4 separate regions of the Homo sapiens genome follow, and regions 1, 2 and 3 are each linked to region 4. The links are contacts of gene promoters, found by promoter capture Hi-C in blood cells and fetal thymus (Javierre and others, 2016). All regions are on one chromosome and are shown on one strand. The core of a region is centred on a gene start or on the middle of the fragment in contact, and the rest is flanking DNA. Distances in the headings are between cores, read along the strand shown.

The links. The method cuts DNA at HindIII sites, captures the fragments that hold promoters and counts their contacts. A CHiCAGO score of 5 or more calls a contact.
Region 1: a fragment that was not itself captured here is called in contact with the fragment with the promoter of YPEL2 in region 4 in 5 of 17 cell types (M1 macrophages, M2 macrophages, M0 macrophages and 2 more); the score reaches 9.4 in M1 macrophages.
Region 2: a contact is called between a fragment that was not itself captured here and the fragment with the promoter of YPEL2 in region 4, in 6 of 17 cell types (M2 macrophages, M0 macrophages, M1 macrophages and 3 more). The highest score is 10.6, in M2 macrophages.
Region 3: a contact is called between a fragment that was not itself captured here and the fragment with the promoter of YPEL2 in region 4, in 4 of 17 cell types (M1 macrophages, M2 macrophages, M0 macrophages and 1 more). The highest score is 8.2, in M1 macrophages.

What each region holds. Positions count from the first base shown.
Region 1 is chr17:59,492,646-59,495,345 of GRCh38, reverse strand. All of the region lies in intron 2 of LINC01476 (long intergenic non-protein coding RNA 1476), which reads left to right. All of the region lies in intron 2 of LOC124904040 (a long non-coding RNA gene), which reads right to left. Among named protein-coding and RNA genes, the nearest start is that of LINC01476, 33 kb to the left of the region's middle. The HindIII fragment of the contact is 236 bases long and covers 1,232-1,467 here.
Region 2 is chr17:59,514,419-59,517,118 of GRCh38, reverse strand. All of the region lies in intron 1 of LINC01476 (long intergenic non-protein coding RNA 1476), which reads left to right. Among named protein-coding and RNA genes, the nearest start is that of LINC01476, 11 kb to the left of the region's middle. The HindIII fragment of the contact is 5,725 bases long and covers 1-2,700 here.
Region 3 is chr17:59,530,720-59,533,419 of GRCh38, reverse strand. LOC105371847 (a long non-coding RNA gene) reads right to left here. Exons shown (of 3, transcript XR_934889.2): 2 at 2,498-2,682. Among named protein-coding and RNA genes, the nearest start is that of LINC01476, 5.2 kb to the right of the region's middle. The HindIII fragment of the contact is 4,066 bases long and covers 1-2,700 here.
Region 4 is chr17:59,330,194-59,332,956 of GRCh38, reverse strand. It overlaps YPEL2 (yippee like 2), which reads right to left and starts at 1,302. Exons shown (of 5, transcript NM_001005404.4): 1 at 1,133-1,302. RefSeq lists an enhancer at 245-806 and a silencer at 1,017-1,536. The HindIII fragment of the contact is 8,765 bases long and covers 144-2,763 here.

The DNA.
Region 1 (2,700 bases), core at 100-2,599, 160 kb before region 4:
TCTCTGAGGAGGTGACAGTTAACTGAGACCTCAAGGTTGAAAAGGAAACAGCCACCGTGCAAAGATCAGGCAAAGGGCAGGGAACATGTGTTCCAGGCAGAAGGAGCTGAAAGTGTAAAGGCTTGGAGGTGGGAAAAGAGCTTTGTGGGAAAACCAGGATGTATGGCAACTGTTTGACTTTGGAGGAAATTAAAGACATATTTGCAAGCCACATGGAGAGTGGAAGGAAGACAAATGCGACTGGAGGAAGGGCCAGGTGGAGAGTGGGAGAGACGAGGCTGGACAGGAGCTCAGAGAATGTAGGGCAGGCCCTGTAGGCCAGGGTGAAGATGACGGTTTTTATTCCAAGTGTAGTGGGAAGCCAAGAAGAGTTTTAAAGAGCCGAGTCATGCAATCTGGTTTATCTTTCTAAAAGATCGCACTTGCTGCTCTATGAAGAAGGACTTGGGGAGAAACAAGTAGAATCAGGGAGAACAGTCCGAGGGCGATTAAAATAATCCAGACGGAAGATGACTACGTTTTAGTCTGAAGTGATAGGAGTGGTGATGGAGAAAAGCAGACGTCTGCGAGTTTTATTTTGGAGATAGAGCCACAGGACTTGGTAAGGATTGGGCATGCGGGGAGGCAAGGGGAAGGGAAGAGTCAAGGAAGCCTCCCAGGTTGCTGGCTTGGGCCTCGGTCTGCAGGGTGAAGCTGTTTATGGAGAGGTGGAAGACTAGGGGAAGAATAAGGATGGAAAGATTTTTAAGATGAAGATGTCCACGAGACATCCAGGGGAAATATCAAGCCGGTAGATCGCTGCCTGAACCTGGAGCCCAGATGACAAGTTTGAGCTGGAGGATCTTTTTTCTAATCTCTTAGTGGTCAAGTAGGCATCTCGGGTCAACCCAGCTTATGCCAAAAGAGACCTCCACCAGGCCTGTATGGACCTGTTAAAACTCTATATGGGGCTTAGATGTGAAGCCCCACTTAGTAAAAAGCATCCCTATACCCTGCTTTGTCATAAGTGCACATATTTTCTTTGAAGAAAAGGATTGCTAGTCAAAAACAAGATTTGAGAATTCCTAGGTCCCTGACTTAATACCCTCATAATCTTGCCCTTAGAGTTCCAATTTTAACATGACTTAACGGTATATTTAAAGAGAAAGCCCCAGAGTCCAGTTGGAGTGACAGACAATATTGTCCTCATGGGGAGACATGGGCCCATAGTAAGAGATAAAGTTCCAAAGCTTTTCCTTCTGGTTGTCATGGCAACAGCAGCAAGCGCTCTAGAGGTGGGAAGGAGGACAAGGAGGAGAGAGGAGCAACCAGAAGCTATGGTGGCTGTTAGTCTGCAGAAAATAATTCAAGACAGATATTTGCAAGCTGCATGGAGCACACGCCCTGTACATCCAGGTTAGTTGTAAGTATACAGTTTGTAAGTGGACAATTTGTTCTTTTTAAGAACCAGAGATACACATAAAAGCTTTGTCAGACTAGGGGGCCAGGAGTACATCATGCATCTGTTTTTTTTTTTTTTTTTTTTTTTTTTTTTTGAGACGGAGTCTCGCTCTGTCGCCCAGGCCGGACTGCAGACTGCAGTGGCGCAATCTCGGCTCACTGCAAGCTCCGCTTCCCGGGTTCACGCCATTCTCCTGCCTCAGCCTCCCCAGTAGCTGGGACTACAGGCGCCCACCACCGCGCCCGGCTAATTTTTTGTATTTTTAGTAGAGACGGGGTTTCACCTTGTTAGCCAGGATGGTCTCGATCTCCTGACCTCATGATCCACCCGCCTCGGCCTCCCAAAGTGCTGGGATTACAGGCGTGAGCCACCGCGCCCGGCCCATGCATCTGTTTTATCCCTTGCACTGAGTGGACTGCCTGGGGCTCCATGTACTTGAATAAATGAGCAAATGAGGTCTCAAAAGAAGAGTCACTACCCTGCTTATTTCATATGGGTTCAAAAGTTGCCAGGTGGATAGAGCCTTTGGATAAAGATTTTAGTTTACATCAGAACCATATGCATATTGTGGTCAGTGATTACAGAGTGACAAGAAGTGAAAAGAAGGCTAGCCCCCAAGCCAAAAGCCCAAGTCGGTGGGAAGTGGGACGTAGGTCTCGTTCCCCAAGATAGAAGCTGAAAATTATTCACTAACCATGGATAGGATGTTATATAATTGTACACTTCCCATCAGGATCCAGTTTATGATAGTTTTAGACTACATTCTTTTTTTTTCTCTCTTTTTTTTTTTTTTTGAGACAGAATCTCGCTCTATTGCTCAGGCTGGAGTGCAGTGGGGTGATCTTGGCTCACTGCAACCTCTGCCTCCCGGGTTCAAGAGATTCTCCTACCTCAGCCTCCCGAGTAGCTGGGACTACAGGCGTGTGCCACCATGACCAGCTTTTTTTATTATTATTATTTTTAAATAGAGATGGGGTTTCACCATATTGGCCAGGCTGGTCTCAAACTCCTGGCCTCATGTGATCCTCCTGCCTTGGCCTCCCAAAGTGCTGGGATTACAGGCGTGAGCCACCACACCCGGCCTGGACTAGATTCTTGAGGTGATTAAATATCATCTGTAACTGGGAATGTAACAAAGGCTGTGGAAGTAAGGAAAGGTGATGGTGTGATAAAGAATACAGACAAAAGGGCATGGATTCCTGCCTACCCTAAAAACAAGGAGACTTGAGGAGTTAAACTTTGTTCAAGAGAGTTTAGTA
Region 2 (2,700 bases), core at 102-2,601, 180 kb before region 4:
TGGTGCACACCTGTGGTCCTAGCTACTCAGGAGGCTGAGGTGGGAGGATCTCTTGATACCAGGAGGTTGAGGCTGCACCACTGCACTCCGGCCTAGGTGACAGAGAGACCCTGTCTCAAAAAAAAAAAATTTCAGTAAATATAAATATAACAATATATTATAGTATACAATATATAAATATTATATACTAATGTATAAATATATAAAATATGATATGATAATATATAAAATAGAAATAAGAACCAAGGCAGTCTAAAAAGCATCTCCATCAATCTATATTTCTTCACATGGCATTCCAGGATTTTCATAGCCTGGCCCTCACTTTCTCTCCAGCCTTATCCCTTGCTATTTCTCTTTGTATATTTTGACTTCCACAGTGTCTGATTGCTCTCAGTGTCCTAAATAGGTCAATGTTTGCTCATACTTTCACACCTTAGAACACAAGGGTAGGGTCCCCTGCTGGGGTGTGAAATAACTTCTGTTCCTGCACCTCCTCTTCAGCTGTCACCTTCTCTGTGAGGCCATCCTTAACTCCCCAGGCTGAGTAGACACCCCACCTTAGGTTTCTCGAGCATTTGGGCACACACCTTTACATCTATGCTTCCCAGACTTTCCTGAATATACGACTCAACTTTAGTGTTAGTTAAAAAACAGATTCTAGGCCAGGTGCAGCGGCTCATGCCTGTAATCCCAGCACTTTGGGAGGCCGACGCGGGCAGATCACAAGGTCAAGAGATGGAGACCATTCTGGCCAACATGGTGAAACCCTGTCTCTACTAAAAATACAAAAAAAAAAAAACCTAGCTGGGTGTGGTGGCGCGCACCTGTAGTCCCAGCTACTCAGGAGGCTGAGGCAGGTGAATCGCTTGAACCCGGGAGGCAGAGGTTGGAGTGAGCCGAGATTGCGCCATTGCACTCCAGCCTGATGACGGAGTGAAACTCTGCCTCAAAAAAACAACAACAACAAAAAAAAAACCAGATTCCAGATTCTAAAACCTCAGAATTTACATGAGAAAAGTCTGGTAAGTTAAGTTCCATATTTCACAAGCGGCCCTGGGGATTCCCATCATTAGAAAAGTTTTGAAAACATTGCTCTGTATCATGACACTTCTCATATTGCATTACAACTATTTGAATTACTGGACTCTCAATAGCCTGTGACCTGCATCTGTTCATTATTGTATTCCCAGTCCCAATACAATGCCCAACTCATGGAAGGAAGCAAAATATGAATGAATGAAAATTCAAATGTGTATGTTTCATTTATTCATTTTTATTTTATTTTATTTTGAGACAGAGTCTCACTCTGTCACACAAGCTGGAGTACAATGTCATAATCTCAGCTCACTGCAACCTCTGCCTCTTGAATTCAAATGATTTTCATGCCTCAGCCTCCTAAGTAGCTGGGACTACAGCAATGTGCCACCACTCCTGGCTAATTTTTGTATTTTTAGTAGAGATGGGGTTTCATGATGTTGCCCAAGCTGGTCTCAAAATCCTGGGCTCAAGCAATCCTCCCACCTCAGCCTCCCAAAGTACTGGGATTACAGGCTTGAGTCACTGCACCCAGCAAGTTGCTCTAAATATGTTTGTTCCTCTCTCTTAGCACCTCAACTAGGGACTTCTTTTCCAGTATCCAGATGCTACACATCACCAAAAGCTCACCAGTGGTGGGATTATGACTCAGTTTTCTTTGTATGAAGAGAACGTTAATAGTTCCTACTTCATGAGTTTTTTTTTGTGAAAAGTAAATGGAATAATACACGTAAAACACTTAGTACGATGTCTAATATTAGGAAGTACTAAGTAAATGAGGTAATAATAATGACAAAGACCAGTCAGACAGAGTCACTTGGGAGATGTCATTCCCCTTGTGAAGCCAAAGTACAAAAAAGGAGCCCACAAAGTCATGCTTTCAGCCGTCCTGAAGGGTACACTGCAAGATTTAAAAAACCCTTTCTGGCAGAGCACGGTGACTCACACCTGTAATCCAGCACTTTGGGAGGCTGAGGTGTGCTGATCGCTTGAGCCCAGGAGTTCAAGACCAGCCTGGGCAACATGGTGAAACCCCGTCTCCACTAAAAAGACAAAAATCAGCAGAGGAAGGTAGTGCATGCCTGTAGTCCCAGCTACTCGGGAGGCTGAGGTGGGAGGATTGCTTCAGCCCAGGAGGCAGAGGTTGCAGTGAGCTAAGATGGCATCACTGCACTCCAGCCTCAGTGAAAGAATGAGACCCTGTCTCAAAAAATAAATAAATAAAAATACAAACCCTTTCTTCTGTTGCCAAATGTCAACATCCTTTCTGATTCAGCCTCTCTTCCCCATCACTGTAATAACCCACATTTCATGGCAAAAAATAGTATTATCAAGAGAGACAAGAATTGTTGGCACACGAATACAAACTTTGTCGCTATCTGGAAGAGTTTGTTCTTGGAGATTTTCTCTAAATATTTGTCCTTCGCATTCTTAGCTTCTTGTAATGTTTAGTACCTTCCCATAAACACTGATTTCCAAAGGATCAGAACTTTAATCACCATCTTGACATCTCCCCACAATGTCCGGTACCAATACATCAATACCAGAATGTCATTGTTTCTGTGCTAGGGGAAAGATGATGGCCAAATATTCTGGGTCCAAAGAGAATGCAGGTTATTGACTCTTTTTAACAGACAAAGAAATGCAAAATGACAGAAGGCCACA
Region 3 (2,700 bases), core at 167-2,666, 200 kb before region 4:
CAGTGGCGCAACCTCGGCTCACTGCAATCTCCACCTCCAAGGTTCAAGCGATTCTCCTGCCTCAGTCTCCCGAGTAGCTGGGATTACAGGCATGTGCCACCACGCACAGCTAATTTTTTGTATTTTTAGTAGAGACGGGGTTTCTCCATATTGGTCAGGCTGGTCTCCAACTCCCGACCTCAGGTGATCCGCCTGCCTCGGCCTCCCAAAGAGCTGGTGTTACAGGCATTAGCCATCGCACCCAGCCTCAGGTAAAAATTTAAAAGGTGCTGGTAGTAGTGTATTTCATAACTTCCTCTTCTGTTTCCCTTGAAACCTTCAGTAAAAACATTACTCTCCAGTATTTTTGTAGTGGGATTTGCATTGTTTGGATGAGATGACATTTGAGAGGGGCCTTCCTAGGGAATCACAGAGTGCCGAGGAGGCTCAGGTACGTTCACATTACAGATCAGAGAGGGGAAAGGAAGGACTCCATTCTTTCATGTTTATTTGTCACAGACAAAGAGGAGATGCACACTCATTTGTGTTTAAATTCATCTAGTCTGCAAATGTGCACACATTTAAATTTCATTCATTCACTTATTACTCATCAGCTTAACAAATATCACTGCAGCTCCTACTGTTTGCCAGGTACTGTGCTAAGTTGTTCCTAGGGATAAACACCAAGTAATACAAACCTGCTTGCTGTCCTATTGTAGCTTACAGTTTAAAACTATATAGTCTAGTGTGAGGACAAGACCCAAAAGAAGTTATGAATAAATATAGTGTCTAAAGATACTATAATGTATGTTGTTGTTGTTATTTTTTAAAAAGCAAAACTGGCCGGGTGTGGTGGCTTACACCTGTAATCGCAGCACTTTGGGAGGCTGAGGCGGGTGGCACACCGGAGGTCAGGAGCCTGACCAACTTGGTGAAATCCCGTTTCTACTAAAAATACAAAAATCAGCCAGGCATGGCGGTGGGCGCCTGTAGTCCCAGCTACTTAGGAGGCTGAGGCAGGAGAATCGCGTGAACTCAGGAGGCAGAGGTTGCAGTGAGCTGAAACCGTGCCATTGCACTCCAGCCTGAGCAACAAGAATGAAACTCTGTCTCTCGGCCAGGCGCGGTGGCTCACGCCTGTAATCCCAGCACTTTGGGAGGCCGAGGCGGGCGGATCACGAGGCCAGGAGACCGAGACCATCCTGGCTAACGCGGTGAAACCCCATCTCCACTAAAAATACAAAAATTAGCTGGGCGTGGTGGCGGGCACCTGTAGTCCCAGCTACTTGAGAGGCTGAGGCAGGAGAATGGCATCAACCACCCAGGAGGCGGAGCTTGCAGTGAGCGAGACAGTGCCATTGCACTCCAGCCTGGACGACAGAGCGAGACTCCGTCTCAAAAAATATATATAAAAAAATTAAAAAAAGAATGAAACTTTGTCTCAAAAATAAATAAAAATTAAAAAATAAAAAAGCAAAACTTTTCAGATAATTTAGTTATAAGCAAATTGCAATGTTTTACTACAATCTGACTGCAAGGAAAAGGCCTCTAGCAGACCAATCCAAAGATTCACTCTTGGCAGAAATATTTTATAGGAAAACAGAAAGGTTAATCACTTTTAGATTAGATACAAAAGAATGTTTGTTTAAGGTCACTCTACTTAGTTAAATGGCCAGGTGATTGGTTTTCCCAGAACAAGTCGTAATTTAAAGTTCAGAAAAATTCCTTAAGTATTTTATCAGGAATGCAATTCTCTCCCCAGAAGGAGCTTGTGAATTATATTCCAAAAAATATTCCATCCCAGTCCACGTTTGGAACAATTTTTCTCCTATTGAATATTTTAAAATGTAGTTTTACAAGATGGTTCAATGTACTTATTCATCTCAATTTTTAGCAGCAAATACGTTTCATTTCCTTATGTCTGTCCATACTTAGAACATAGTAATTGTTCCTTTCAGTTGTGAAACAAACAAAGGGTTAAGTTGGAGAATCACAATGGAAGTCCTAGTTTAAATAGAACGGACTGGGAAGACCTCTCTGAAGGGGTAAATTTGAGTTGCAGAAGTCATATTTAAGTTGAGGTCTAAAGGGAGACAAAAAAAGCTACTCAAGTGAGATGATAAGGAAACACATTTCACAGGGAAACAGCTTTACAGAGGCCCTTAGGAAAGGAAAGTGACTTTGAAGATGGTATTACCTGAGGAGGCCAACACAGAAAGTTGAAATTGATGCAGAAAGTTCAGAGATGGGTTCTGATTGGTCCATTCTGATGGGTTTTCTCTTCAAAGCAACCCTTCGAGGTACAGTACTAAGAGTAGTATGGGAAGAACTAGGATGAGGTGCTATTACCAGAGAAAAGGGGATCAGAACCCAAGAAATGGGGAGGCAGAGGGAGTGACTCTCCTTAATATTTCCATATCCACAGACAAAAAGGAGACTTGTAGAAATAGACTCCCTGGGGGGTCCACACTGCACTATCCGTGCCTGCTCTTCCTTCAGGGAAAGATGAGTGACTTACCTGATTGCTGACATCAGGACAAGCCATTAGAAGCAGGAACCAGGAGCCATGCACTGAAAAGGGGGTTTGTTCTCTCACATATGCTTGCTATGCTATCTCTTCTGCAGTGCCAGGGTTTATGAAACAGATCTTGATCCTATGCACCACTGGCTTAAGGAGTGTCTTCCTGGCAGAGCCAACTTTTTCTAAAGATAGATTGGAAA
Region 4 (2,763 bases), core at 53-2,552:
AAGGAAGGAAGGGCAGGGAGGAAAAGACAGCTGTCTCGTTAGCCTTCAGATTCACCAAAGGCAAGGACTCACTCAAGAGCCTCCCAAGTTGCAAGGACAGCAAATCAGCAAGGAGGCCAGAAAGCAAAAACCCCAGCAAAGCTTCGGAGCAGTTCTCTGGGGCCTTTCACAGCGGCGGGACTGGGGGGCGGGCGAGGGTGCAGCTCCGCTCCAAGCGGAGGAAAACAAGACACTCGCTCACCTGGCTTTTTAAACTCTCGCAGCTAAGACTGAAGGCAGAGGTAGCAATCTTCCGGACAAGAAGTCCAGAAGAACAGGTGTCCCCCACCCCCGCACGCCCCCAAGACCGGAGAAAAGCCCACCACTCCGGGAAAGACACCAGAGGAGGTCGGCGGCCAAGCAGGGTGAACTGGAAGTGGCGAAAGGTCGGGGCCGCCCCTAAGCGCCAGCTCCGGGGAGGCGCTCGCGGCAGAGGCTCCCGCGTTCCGTCGGGCAGGACCTCGCGCCCACCCCCTTGGCAAGGACACCGGGGAGGCGCCGAGACGCGGCCAGGGAGGAACTCGGCTGCGGTTACCTCGACCCGGGTCGGGGCAGACGACGCGCTCCGAGAAATTTCGAGGGCGCCCAGTCCCACAGTGGAAGGCCCCCAGGGCGGCGCCCCTGGACCTAAGTGTCCCCAGGACTCTCCGAGGGAAACGCGGCGTCACGAGAGGACGGAGGGCGTCCCCAGCCCCACCCGGACCCCATGGAGTCCGAACCCATGGGGACGACGCGGAGGAGGAAGCGGCGATTCCAGCTCCGCACCCCCGCCCCAAACCTGGCCCCGCAGACTCGCCCAGCCCCTGGCGCGCGTCTCCCGCCCCGGCCGGGGGTCCCGCGCCCTTGGGCTCCCTCCGCGAGCGGCCGCGGGCCCGGCAGTGTTTGTAAACAAACCGGTCACGTGGCCCGGCGGCCGCTCCCCGTCCCCGGCGCCCACGGGGACCCCACGCGGAACCGAGGGCGCCGCACCCCCAACCCCGCGCAGGCCCGGCCGGGGGAGTCCGGAGGCCGGGGCCGGGGACCCAGAGCCCGAGCTGACAGCGCGCCCCACGCCCACGCGCGCCCGGCCCGCGCCGCACTCCGGTGCACTTACCCGGCGACAGGCGGCCCTGTCCGGCCAGCGTGGGGCTTGGCTCCGCTGGGGTGCGCAGCGGCGAAGCGCGGCCCGGCTGGGGCTCGGGCTCCCGGCACGCTCTTAAAGCCACAGTCTCCGCCACCGCCGCGGCCGCCACTCCGCATCCCTCCGGGTCCGGGCCGGGGGCTACCCCGTGATGGACGCGCCCCCGCACCTATCCCCTCGGCTCAGCACATAGCAACACGCCGCGGGTTGGCCGGGCGCAGCCGCAGCCCATCCGCGCAGAGCCAATCATCAGAGGACGGAACTCCGCCCCCCGCTTCCCCGACCGCCCACTCCCCCACCCCTCGGCCCGGCCCAGCCTGGGCTAGGGGAGAGCGGCTGGTTAGGGTCCCGCCCGTCCCGGCAACTTGCCGGAGGGCAGGGACCCAGAGTGCCAAAGCTGGGTGGGCTCTCAGCGCCTAGGAGGAGGCCGTTTATTTGAGTTTGGGGTTTGTCCCCAGGGCAGGGCTGGGATTCCCAGAACCTGGGTTGTATTTTGGGGCGGGGGGATTTGCAGTGCATCTCCCTGGAGGCTCAAGATAGTCATTCCTTTCTTACGTTTTAAACCTCGCCCTAAGCCATAGCCTAAGTTACCAGAAGTGGCCCTCAGGCCCCGGGTAATTGAATTTAAAATGATAGGGGGGAGGGGGGAGGGATAGCATTAGGAGATACACCTAATGCTAAATGACGAGTTAATGGGTGCAGCACACCAACATGGCACATGTATACATATGTAACAAACCTGCACATTGTGCACATGTACCCTAAAACTTAAAGTATAATAATAATAAAATTAAAAGAAAATGATAGTGCTAGTTGCACCCAGCCCACCCATGCCTTGCTCAGAAGCCAGGCATTTCCCCTCTTCTCTCTGCCCTGCTAGTAATTTCGGCGAATTAAAAGTACGAAAGGGGCTTAGTGGAATTGAAGACCGCCCCATTGCTGCTAATTTTCCATGACTTTCAGAGGCAGATGACGGTAATTAGAGTGGGATGGTCCGAGTGACCAGAGGGGAGGAGTCCACGTTCTGGGTCACCGGGGTGGTGCTTTTCAAGGAAGAGCAGGTTAAAAAATAACCTCGTGGCAGTCAGGAAACCAGGGAGGCACCAGGTGGGTGGAGTGGGGCAGTTTCCCAGCAGGAAAACAGGACAGTTTGATAAAGAATGTTGGCACGGACAAGGTGAACAAAGCAGGTCCTGCCTTTCGCTCAAGACACTGGGGTTCCGCAGTTCCTCTGGGAACTCTTCCTCCAAGGAAACTAGTGTTTTACTGTGCAGCCATCAGGATGTGAGGTGCTGCAGGAGGTGCAGCTGACTCTCCGCCTTCCACACACTGGTTTGCACGTACACCCAGAATGCTGGCTCACCTGCATCTCCACCCAGCTGTTTTTAAAATATGCTTGGTCAACCAAATTGTATTCAGTTAATATCTATTGCATGTGAATCCAGTCACCAAGGTTAGTAAAAACAACAAAACACCCCAAATACCTCAGTATTGTGGGGCTGACATATCAGCCTCAGATTTGCAGTTTCAGTGTAAACAAAGGCTATGTCCTGGTTCACAACTGACTAGTTTGGAGAGTCTAAAACGGGGGGGGGGGGGGAATG